Linked DNA regions of Homo sapiens: all the other regions are linked to region 1. Evidence: promoter capture Hi-C in 16 types of primary human blood cells and fetal thymus (Javierre and others, 2016). All regions are on one chromosome and are shown on one strand. Each heading gives the region's core, a stretch centred on a gene start or on the middle of the fragment in contact. The rest is flanking DNA. Distances are from core to core; before and after follow the strand shown. Region 1 holds the start of DNASE2B (deoxyribonuclease 2 beta). Region 2 overlaps SAMD13 (sterile alpha motif domain containing 13). Region 3 has its middle 34 kb from the start of DNASE2B.

The links. Contacts are between HindIII fragments. The CHiCAGO score rates a contact against its expected background, and 5 or more counts as called.
Region 2: a contact is called between a fragment that was not itself captured here and the fragment with the promoter of DNASE2B in region 1, in 1 of 17 cell types (M0 macrophages). The highest score is 5.1, in M0 macrophages.
Region 3: a fragment that was not itself captured here is called in contact with the fragment with the promoter of DNASE2B in region 1 in 1 of 17 cell types (M2 macrophages); the score reaches 5.4 in M2 macrophages.

Annotation. Positions count from the first base shown.
Region 1 is chr1:84,396,956-84,399,968 of GRCh38, reverse strand. It overlaps DNASE2B (deoxyribonuclease 2 beta), which reads right to left and starts at 1,485. Exons shown (of 6, transcript NM_021233.3): 1 at 1,280-1,485. The coding sequence starts at 1,404. The HindIII fragment of the contact is 1,924 bases long and covers 698-2,621 here.
Region 2 is chr1:84,340,922-84,343,934 of GRCh38, reverse strand. The region is part of intron 3 of SAMD13 (sterile alpha motif domain containing 13); the gene reads right to left. Among named protein-coding and RNA genes, the nearest start is that of SAMD13, 41 kb to the right of the region's middle. The HindIII fragment of the contact is 9,729 bases long and covers 1-3,013 here.
Region 3 is chr1:84,431,044-84,434,056 of GRCh38, reverse strand. No RefSeq gene overlaps it. Among named protein-coding and RNA genes, the nearest start is that of DNASE2B, 34 kb to the right of the region's middle. The HindIII fragment of the contact is 4,985 bases long and covers 1-3,013 here.

The DNA.
Region 1 (3,013 bases), core at 236-2,735:
ACACCTCTTCTCACCTGTAATGCTGCAAAAGTGCTCCTGGTCTCAGTGATTCTAGGCTGCTCCCCATCCATCCAGCCCTCATAGTACTGCCAATGGGTTTCCTAAAGTGCAAATCTGACCATTCACACCCCTGCGTGAAGTCCTCCAATAGCTCCCTTTCAATGTCAAGTTCAAACCTTGTAGCTCAGCACACAGACCCCTTGGCTGTCCCCACCTCTCTAACCTCACCTCCGGTCATCTTCCTGTATTCTCCTGAAGTTCCAGCAATACCAAACTACTTTGCAACTCCCAAATTTCCATGTTGCTTCTTGCCTCTCTACCTCCTCATTGCTCCTTCATTGGCCTGAGATGCTCTTGCACATCCCTTCTTTTTCCAGCTACTTCTTAATTGTTCTTAAAACTTAGCTCAAAAATTACATCCTTAGAGAAGTTTTCTGGGCTCTCTGTTCCCCAGTGTTCCACCTATGCCCTTACCACATAACTGTGAGGTCCTTGAGGGTAGGAACCATGTTTCGTTCATATTTATATTTTCAAAACTCCACACAGACCTCTGTTGAGCTCAGTAACTGAGGAAAGACTGACTACTGCCTTGAGTATATCTGTGTTCTGTAGCCTGAAGTTTACACAAAAAGCTTGACACCAACCATTATGGCAAACCTAAATATCCCAATTAAAGGGTGAAAAAGTAGTTAAAGCTTTAGGAGAACCCATGACTATAATGCAACACAGCATTTAATGTCTTTGACACTGTACAACAGGCCAGTGGCCTACGTACCAATCATGGCAACAGCTGCCTCTGCTTCCAAACAAACCGATGTTAGGCAAACAGTGCTGTGTGTGACCAGGTCCCCCTTCTCTTTCTCATAAGGAGCAGCACATGCTCCATTTTCAGAAAAAAATAATCTGCCTTCTTTACTCTGTCAGTCTTTCAAAGGATGTTGGAAGTGTTCTGTTAGGAAAAGCCATGATGTAATTAAAAGAAATTGCCAGCTCACAGAAGCTGTCAGCTCAATCCCACTTCTGTGGCTACCAGCCTTGCCCCGCTGAGAACAGTGAATCAGGCCCAAGAGGGGCTGCTCAGCTCTTTTTCAGGGGGAAACTCCGTCACTCAGAAGCCTACCCCTGCCTGGGAGTTTGGCCGATTTGCACACTTTAACTTCCTTTATTTGTAAAGGGAGGAAAGAGAATGGACATTCCCCTTAGGAACTTCGCAGTGAGCCAGGCCAACTCTGTACCGAGGCTGTTTGCATGCAGCAGTCCTTCCATTTCATTTACCTACCAGTCCACAGCTTTCCCTTCTTCATTTCTGCATGAAATTGTTGCTGCCCCCAGCACCCCAAAGAGGCCAAGGAAGAGCAAAGCAAAGGATGTTCTTAGCAGTCTTGCCATCATTTTCTGTTTCATTTATTTCATGCCACAGCAGGACACTTTCCCCATAGATTGTGGAGTCTGAGTTTCAAGGCGCTCTCAGGCTGTGCTGGCTCTGACGTTTGATTTGATTTACCTGTGCTGTTCGCTGTTCGGGGCATTTTCAGAGTGGGATGGATCCCATGTAATTGTGCGATTCTGTCACAACATGCCAGCGTGACTCTGGATGCCTTTGTGCTGAATTGTTGACTGGTTTGCAAAGTCATCAAAAAGTTCTGCAGAAAAATAGGGAAAGATAGTTCACTCTTTGGAGTGAACATTGTTGTATGAAATTCATTGGGCAGGGGGACTTCATTTTAATAAGTAGATGTTAAATATATTTCATGTCTTCTCCTGTTTGACTCAATGAATGAGAGCAAATGCAGGTGGTTCGTACATTAAACAGAAATGATAAAACCTTATGTCTTAGTAATAATTAGGATCTGTCACTTAATAATCTCTGTCTTAAGGAACCAGTTGCTAAGGGATACTTCAAAGGGTTGCTTCAAAGTAACAGTAAATTTAACTGTATTTTACCAAAGATGTTTACATATTCTCTCCATCTTCCTGGTTTTAGCCACTCAATGTGGTGCTTCAGGCTGCTATGCAATAGGTAAACATATTGATCACCCACTCTTCAGGTTAATAAAAAATGTTACAAACATCTATTTTGCCCAAACTATGCTTTCTCATTCTCGAAGCTGAATCTGAAGTAGAAAACCAAAATAAAATGGCCCACTACCATAACAACTATAAAAAGGTGAGACCAATTTCTTTGTGAATCAGGGAAGGAGTAGATAGACATATGAAAATAATTTCTTTAATGCATACTTTTGCATCAATTATTAAAGCTGCCATCATAATAAATAGCAGTTTACATCATGCCTGGAAATAATGCTGCCCCTAATCTGTCTCTCTGATAATCACAATGATAACTATAATAGTTCCAGATCAGAGGATCCAGACCAAACTGAACCCTTGTAAATCAGATTACCTCTGTGGTTGCACTAGAACTGTTCACAATTCTCAGGATTCATAGAAAAGGGGAAGGCTTGTGTCTCTATCCTAAGACAGAGTTTTGGGAGGAGGACTCTGTACCACCTGCCCAATTACCTGTGGTGCCTGCAAAAAAGGCAGAATTCTAGGACTTATTCCAAACCTGCTACATCAGAATTCTTCCAGTTGGGCTCAAGAATCTATATTTTTAATAAGCTTATTGGTGATGCTGGTGTACCCTAAAGTTTGAAACTCACTGCCCTGAGGCCAAGACTATGCTGTATTTGGTAGATTCACAGCTTTCTGCAGGTTAAATGAAGAAATATTTTTCTTACCCATTCCTCCATTGGTATTATTATTATTATTATTTTGAGATGAAGTTTTGCTCTTGTTGCCCAGGCTGGAGTGTACCCACCTCGGCCTGGGAATCCATCCACCTCGGCCTCCCAAAGTGCTGGGATTACAGGCATGAACCACTGTGCCTGTTCTCATTTTGTTTTATATATTTTCTTCCTGTGTTCAGAAAAAAGGATTTCAACAACCCCAACCTTTTTGTCAATTTTTAAAAGTTTTTTTAAAAATTATCAGCTGGACGCAGTGGCTTATGCCT
Region 2 (3,013 bases), core at 379-2,878, 56 kb after region 1:
GAATTGAAGACCTCCCATATATTGTCAAATAAGTCTTCTTCAGCTGATTAAAAATTTTTTTTAATTTAAATTTAAATTTTATTTTAAGTACATGTGCAGGATGTGCAGGTTTGTTACATAGGTAAATGTGTGCCATGGTGGTTTGTTGCACTATCAACCTATCACCTAGGTATTAAGCCCAGCATGCATTAGCTATTTTTCCTAATGCTCTCCTTCTCCCCAACCCACCCCTGACAGGCCCCAGTGTGTGTTGTTCCCCTCCCTGTGTCGATGTGTTCTCATTCTTCAGCTCCCACTTACAAGTAAGAACATGCAGTGTTTGGTTTTCTGTTCTTGCATTAGTTTGCTGAGGATAATGGCTTCCAGCTCCATCCATGTCCCTGCAAATGACATGGTCTCATTCCTTTTCAGGGCTTCACAGCATTCCATGGTGTCTATGTACCACGTTTTCTTTATCCAGTCTATCATTGATGGGCATTTGGGTTAATTCCATGTCTTTGCTATTGTGAATAGTGCTGCAATGAACAGACATGTGCATGTATCTTCATGATAGAATGATTTATATTCCTTTGGGTATATACCCAGTAATGGGACTGCTGAATCAAATGGTATTCCTGATTCTAGATCTTTGAGGAATTGCCACACTGTCTTCCAAAATGGTTGAACTAATTTACATTCACACCAACAGTGTAAAAGCATTCCTATTTCTCCACAACCTTGCCAGCATCTGTTGTTTCTTGACTGTTTAATAATTGCCATTCTGACTGGTGTAAGATGGTATCTCATTGTGGTTTTGATTTGCATTTACCTAATAATCTGTGATGTTGAGTTTTTTTCATGTTTCTTGGCTGCACTAATGTCTTCTTCTGAGAAGTGTTTTTTCATGTCCTTTGCCCAGTTTTTAATGGGGTTGTTTGTTTTTTTCTTGTAAATTTGTTTAAATTCCTTGTAGATTCTGGATATTAGACCTTTGTCAGATGGAGAGATTGCAAAATTTTTCTCCCACGCTATAGGTTACCTGTTCACTCTGATGATAGTTTCTTTTGCGGTACAGAAGCTCTTTTGTTTAATTAGATCCCATTTGTCAATTTTTGCTTTTGTTGCAATTGCTTTTGATGTTTTCGTCATGAAATCTTTGTCCATGCCTATGTCCTGAATAGTATTGCCTAGATTTTCTTCTAGGGTTTTTATAGTTTGGGGTTTTACATTTAAGGTTTTAATCCATCTTGAGTTAATTTTGTATAAGGTGTAAGGAAGGGGTCTAGTTTCAGTTTTCTGCATGTGGCTAGCCAGTTCTCCCAGCACCATTTATTAAATAGAGAATCTTTTCCCCATTGCTTGTTTTTGTCAGGTTTGTCAAAGATCAGATGATTGTAGATGTGTGGTCTTATTTCTGAGTTCTCCATTCTGTTCTATTGGTCTAGGTGTCTGTTTTTATACCAATACCATGCTGTTTTGGTTACTGTGGCCTTACAGTATAGTTTTAAGTCTGGTAGCATGATGCCTCCAACTTTGTTCTTTTTGCTTAGGATTGTTTTGGCTATATGAGCTTTTTTTGATGTTGTTCTTCCATCTGAATTTTAAAATAGTTTCTTGTAATTCTGTGAAGGGTCTTTCAATGTTAGCCTTTTCAAAATTTATCTTTGGACTTAAGAACTAAACTAAGCAGCAGCATCAAAACAACAAATGCTTTTAAAAAGGGAGGTGCTGGTTGCTCTTTTTGCAGGATACGCAACTACAGATTTCCCAGGCTTCTTTGAAACTTAGTGTGGCCATGTGACTAAGCTCTGGCCAATGAGATGGGAAGGGATGATGCATGCGTCTCTCAGGCCCATAAAACTACCTGCACAGTCTTCTTATTCTTTTTCCTTATGCTAACTTATGTCAATGCCCAGATTATCTTGAAAGCTATTTAACTGATAACAAGGCCTCCTTCACCTGGGTCTTTGAATGACAGTGAAGCAGAAAATCCCCACCAGCTACCTTGGACTATCTGTATGAGCAAGAAATAAAATTCTACTATAATTAAGCCATTATATACTACTGGTAATATCTGTTGGTCTACTTTAATACACCAACCATTTCTACAATTTCCCCTTCCTTTTACAACCTCTTCTTATCATGTCATCAACCAAAAGAGTCCTATCTCTGCAACACTGAAAGCCCAATATCCTGATCTGTCTCTCACTCCTCATTCTCATTAAACCCATTTTTTTTATGTCAACTCCACTTTCTCCAGGGTTATCAGTCCCTTTCTGACTCCTCTTTCATACCAAGTCTGAACCCAATGATTGACCAGGGAGCTATTCTTTTATTAGCCCTCTATAAAGTAGCCCTCTTAAGCCATTAGCTTTTTGCAGTGTCCATCCCACAAACCCCCCATCCAGGATGAGTCCAGCAATCCAGCTTCTCTAACTCCTCTACCTAGTGCAGCTGGGGAAAAAAATCAAGGAACCATGAAGATGAAACACATCACATTTGCAGTGTACCAATCTCAGCTGGCCAGTAGAATACCTCAACTGTTCTTTTGTTATCCTTGGTCATTGCCCTCTCCCATTCCCCTTGGTGGCCATTCTTAACCTTCACTGCTGTCCTCCAGTTCCTTATTAAATCTCTACCAATCCCCATCTACCCCAAGCAGAGGAGCTTGACTCTTGTTTAGCAAAGGAAATAGAGGCTGTAAGGAACTCCCTTAATGTCCATGAAGACAAAGTGTATTAGTTAGGGTTCTCCAGAGAAACAGAACCAATGAGATACTGGTTAGATATGACCAACCTGCATGCTGGGAAAACAGGAAAGCTAGTGGTATAATTCAGTCCAAGTCTGAAAGACTGAGAATGGGAGGGTGAGGTGGGGCTGATGATATAAGTCCAGTCAGAGTCTGAAGGCCTGAGAACCAGAAGCTCTGATTTCCAAGGGCAGGAGATGATGGCTGTCTCAGGTCAAACAGAGTGATTTACCGTTTCTCCATATTTTTGTTCTATTAGGGCCATCATGGGATGAGGTGATGTTC
Region 3 (3,013 bases), core at 192-2,691, 34 kb before region 1:
TTTGTTTTAAACTGAAAAAAAGCAAAACAAAGCAAAACAAGAAAACAATATCCTGGACTTCTTGGTCAGCAGGGGGAGCACTATCACTTTGCTCCGGGAAGATTTTCACCAAGGCAACAACTGTCTTTTAATATAGACCACATCCTAGCAACGAGGAGGAAAAAAATAATGACACGATCGATACATTTGCTCCCTGGTGGTTGCAATTTTTAAACACAGCTTTTTTTTTTTAGCCTTTGTATTTGAAAAATGTTTGCTTAGGAAGGGGTCATCAGCTATCTTTTTTTTTTTTTTTCTGTCCTGCCTTTTAGTCACTTTCTAATTTGAGAGAAAGGTATTTAATTCAGAAGACAGGGTTTTAAATGTGTCGTGGAGGCTGGTGTTACAGCACCTGGTTAGTATATGGGCTATGTCTGTGTGACACAGAAATAAAGACACTGATTTGCTCATTTTATTTAAACTAGTCAATACAGTGAGAGAAATCAGTCAAACTGGATTTCTGTCTAAAGTGACCTTTTGTTTGAGTGAATTGATTCAAGGAAATTGAAATGGGGACATGGTGTCCTTCTCAGACTCAGCTGGAGCAAAGCCTATCAAGCGAGGGTGGCAGCATCGTCAACAGGGAGCATCGGGCAACCGGGCTCTCATCTGGCTTCTGCTCTGTGATCTCGGACAGAACGTTTAACTTAACTCTTTGTACCATGATTTCTTCTCTTATAAACATCTCACACTTTTATGATGAGGAAATTATAAAATGGATTTGGAAGCATCTTGAAATATCAAGAAATGTCTATATAATAATTTACACAAAAGACCTAGCTTAGCTCATATACATTCAGACATATATAAGCTATAGAGGCATATATAGTACATATATACCCTATGTGTACATATGTATATATGTGTGTATGTAGCTAAATCCACATATTTATATATATGTAAGATATATATACACACATATATAAGAGATATTATAATTATACACATAAAGGAGGTGTTTAGGTGAAGACAATTCTTTCTGAAAGTATGACAGTTTATAGTAATTTCCCCACTTACAGAATAATAATAGCTTACAGGCAGAAATAATAAAGAATCCAGGACTCTTTTGATAATCTTTTATTTCCTAAAATTCTTATTTGGTGAAGAGAAGTTTATATCACTTATTTTCCATGAACATTTTAAAAAGAAGGAATTCTAATCTGTAGATGCTGCTTTAACTAAAGCTATCCTTATCTAATAATATACCTGATTAAATACTCTGCCAGAGTATTTTTCTTTCATCTCCTTTGTACCCTGAATGGAAGCATTGCATCAAAATATTTCTACAAGCATTTTAAGAGAAATAGATGAATAAGGGGAAATCTAGTTGGCACCAAAGAAACATGCATTTTATTCACTCAGGATCTAAAATGGCTGACTCGTTCTTTTTAAGTAAATCTTTCTCTTTTTCCAAATGACAACAAATAATTTAACATGTGACATTAGGCCTTTTTTTTAAGTAATGAATTTTTAATAAACAAATGGAATGGCTTTCATTTTTAATAATATATTATTCCATTATAAAGTGCAATTTGATCTATTTGATCTGTGGCTAGTTAACTCAGAGGTTAAGAGTGAGGTGCTAATGAATTCCAAGTAATAAGTTTAATTCCTGTGAGGTTCAGGGTTACTCGATACTATGGCTACAGACATATCCCTAATCCTAAATAATCATCCATCTTAAAAATTATTATTGCTATCCAAATCTGAGACCACGCAATGTAATGTCAGGTAAATAAGGCAAAACTATTTCTACCGTTAAGAGGCAACCAAGTCCATCTGCCCACTTGTAAGTGTTTTCAGTATCATCTTGGGATAGCTCCTTCATAATTATATTTTATATTTTTGGAGTACTTAGGAAAGGTATAAGTTGGGGAATTCCAGGTATTTTAATTAAATCCTACAGGACAACTGTGGTATCATACCTGACAAAAAGCTGAAGTACAGTGAAAAATATCTAGACTGGGAACTAGACATACTGTGTTTGAATCCCAGCTCTTCCATTAATCAGCTTTGAGCACTTAGACAAGTCATTTAACCTTTCCCAGCCTTGATTTCCTCGTGAAAATGAAGACAGAAATACCTATCTTCCAGCTTACTGTAGGGTTTAAATGAATTAATATATGTAAATATATGTAAATGAGTTTTTATATATACTTAGCATGGTGCTTGGCACATAATAAGTACTTAGTAAATAGTAGCTATCTCTAGCCTTCTGATCATTATCGGAACTCCTACATAAGAGGTATTGTAAGAATTAAATGAATATTGAATATGGACCACATTTTTTTTCTTTTTGTTTTTTGAGGTGAGTCTCCCTCTCAACCAGGCTGGAGTGCAGTGGCTCGATCTCAGCTCACTGCAACCTCTGCCGCCTGGGTTCAAGCGATTCTTCTGCCTCAGCCTCCTGAGTAGCTGAAATTACAGGCATGCACCACCACGCCTGCCTCATTTTTTTGTATTTTTAGTAGAGACAGGGTTTCACCATGCTGGCCAGGCCAACTCCTGACCTCAAGTGATCCACCTACCTTGGCCTCCCAAAGTGCTGGGATTACAGGTGTGAGCCACCATGCCCGGCCCACATTCTTTCTTGAACTGAAGGTATTTTGTTTATCGGTGAGCATTAAATTCATAGTAAAATATTACTATCTCACTGGGGGCAATTATCTCTTTATTCATTAATTAAAAACTCGCATGACAAGTTATTGTGTATTATGCACAAAATATTGAGATAGGAATAACAAGGGATTTTTTTTTTAAAGTGTGAGTATGAGACTTTCACTTCTGGGTAAAATGTAGAAGTCCATGGAAGGCCAACACTCTCAGTGCAACAACTTGGGGTAACCTGGATAAATGTAGTCCCAGCTACTCGGGAGGCTGAGGCAGGAGAATGGCGTGAACCCGGGAGGCGGAGCTTGCAGTGAGCCGAGATAGTGCCACTGCACTCCAGCCTGGGCGACAGAGTGAGACTCAG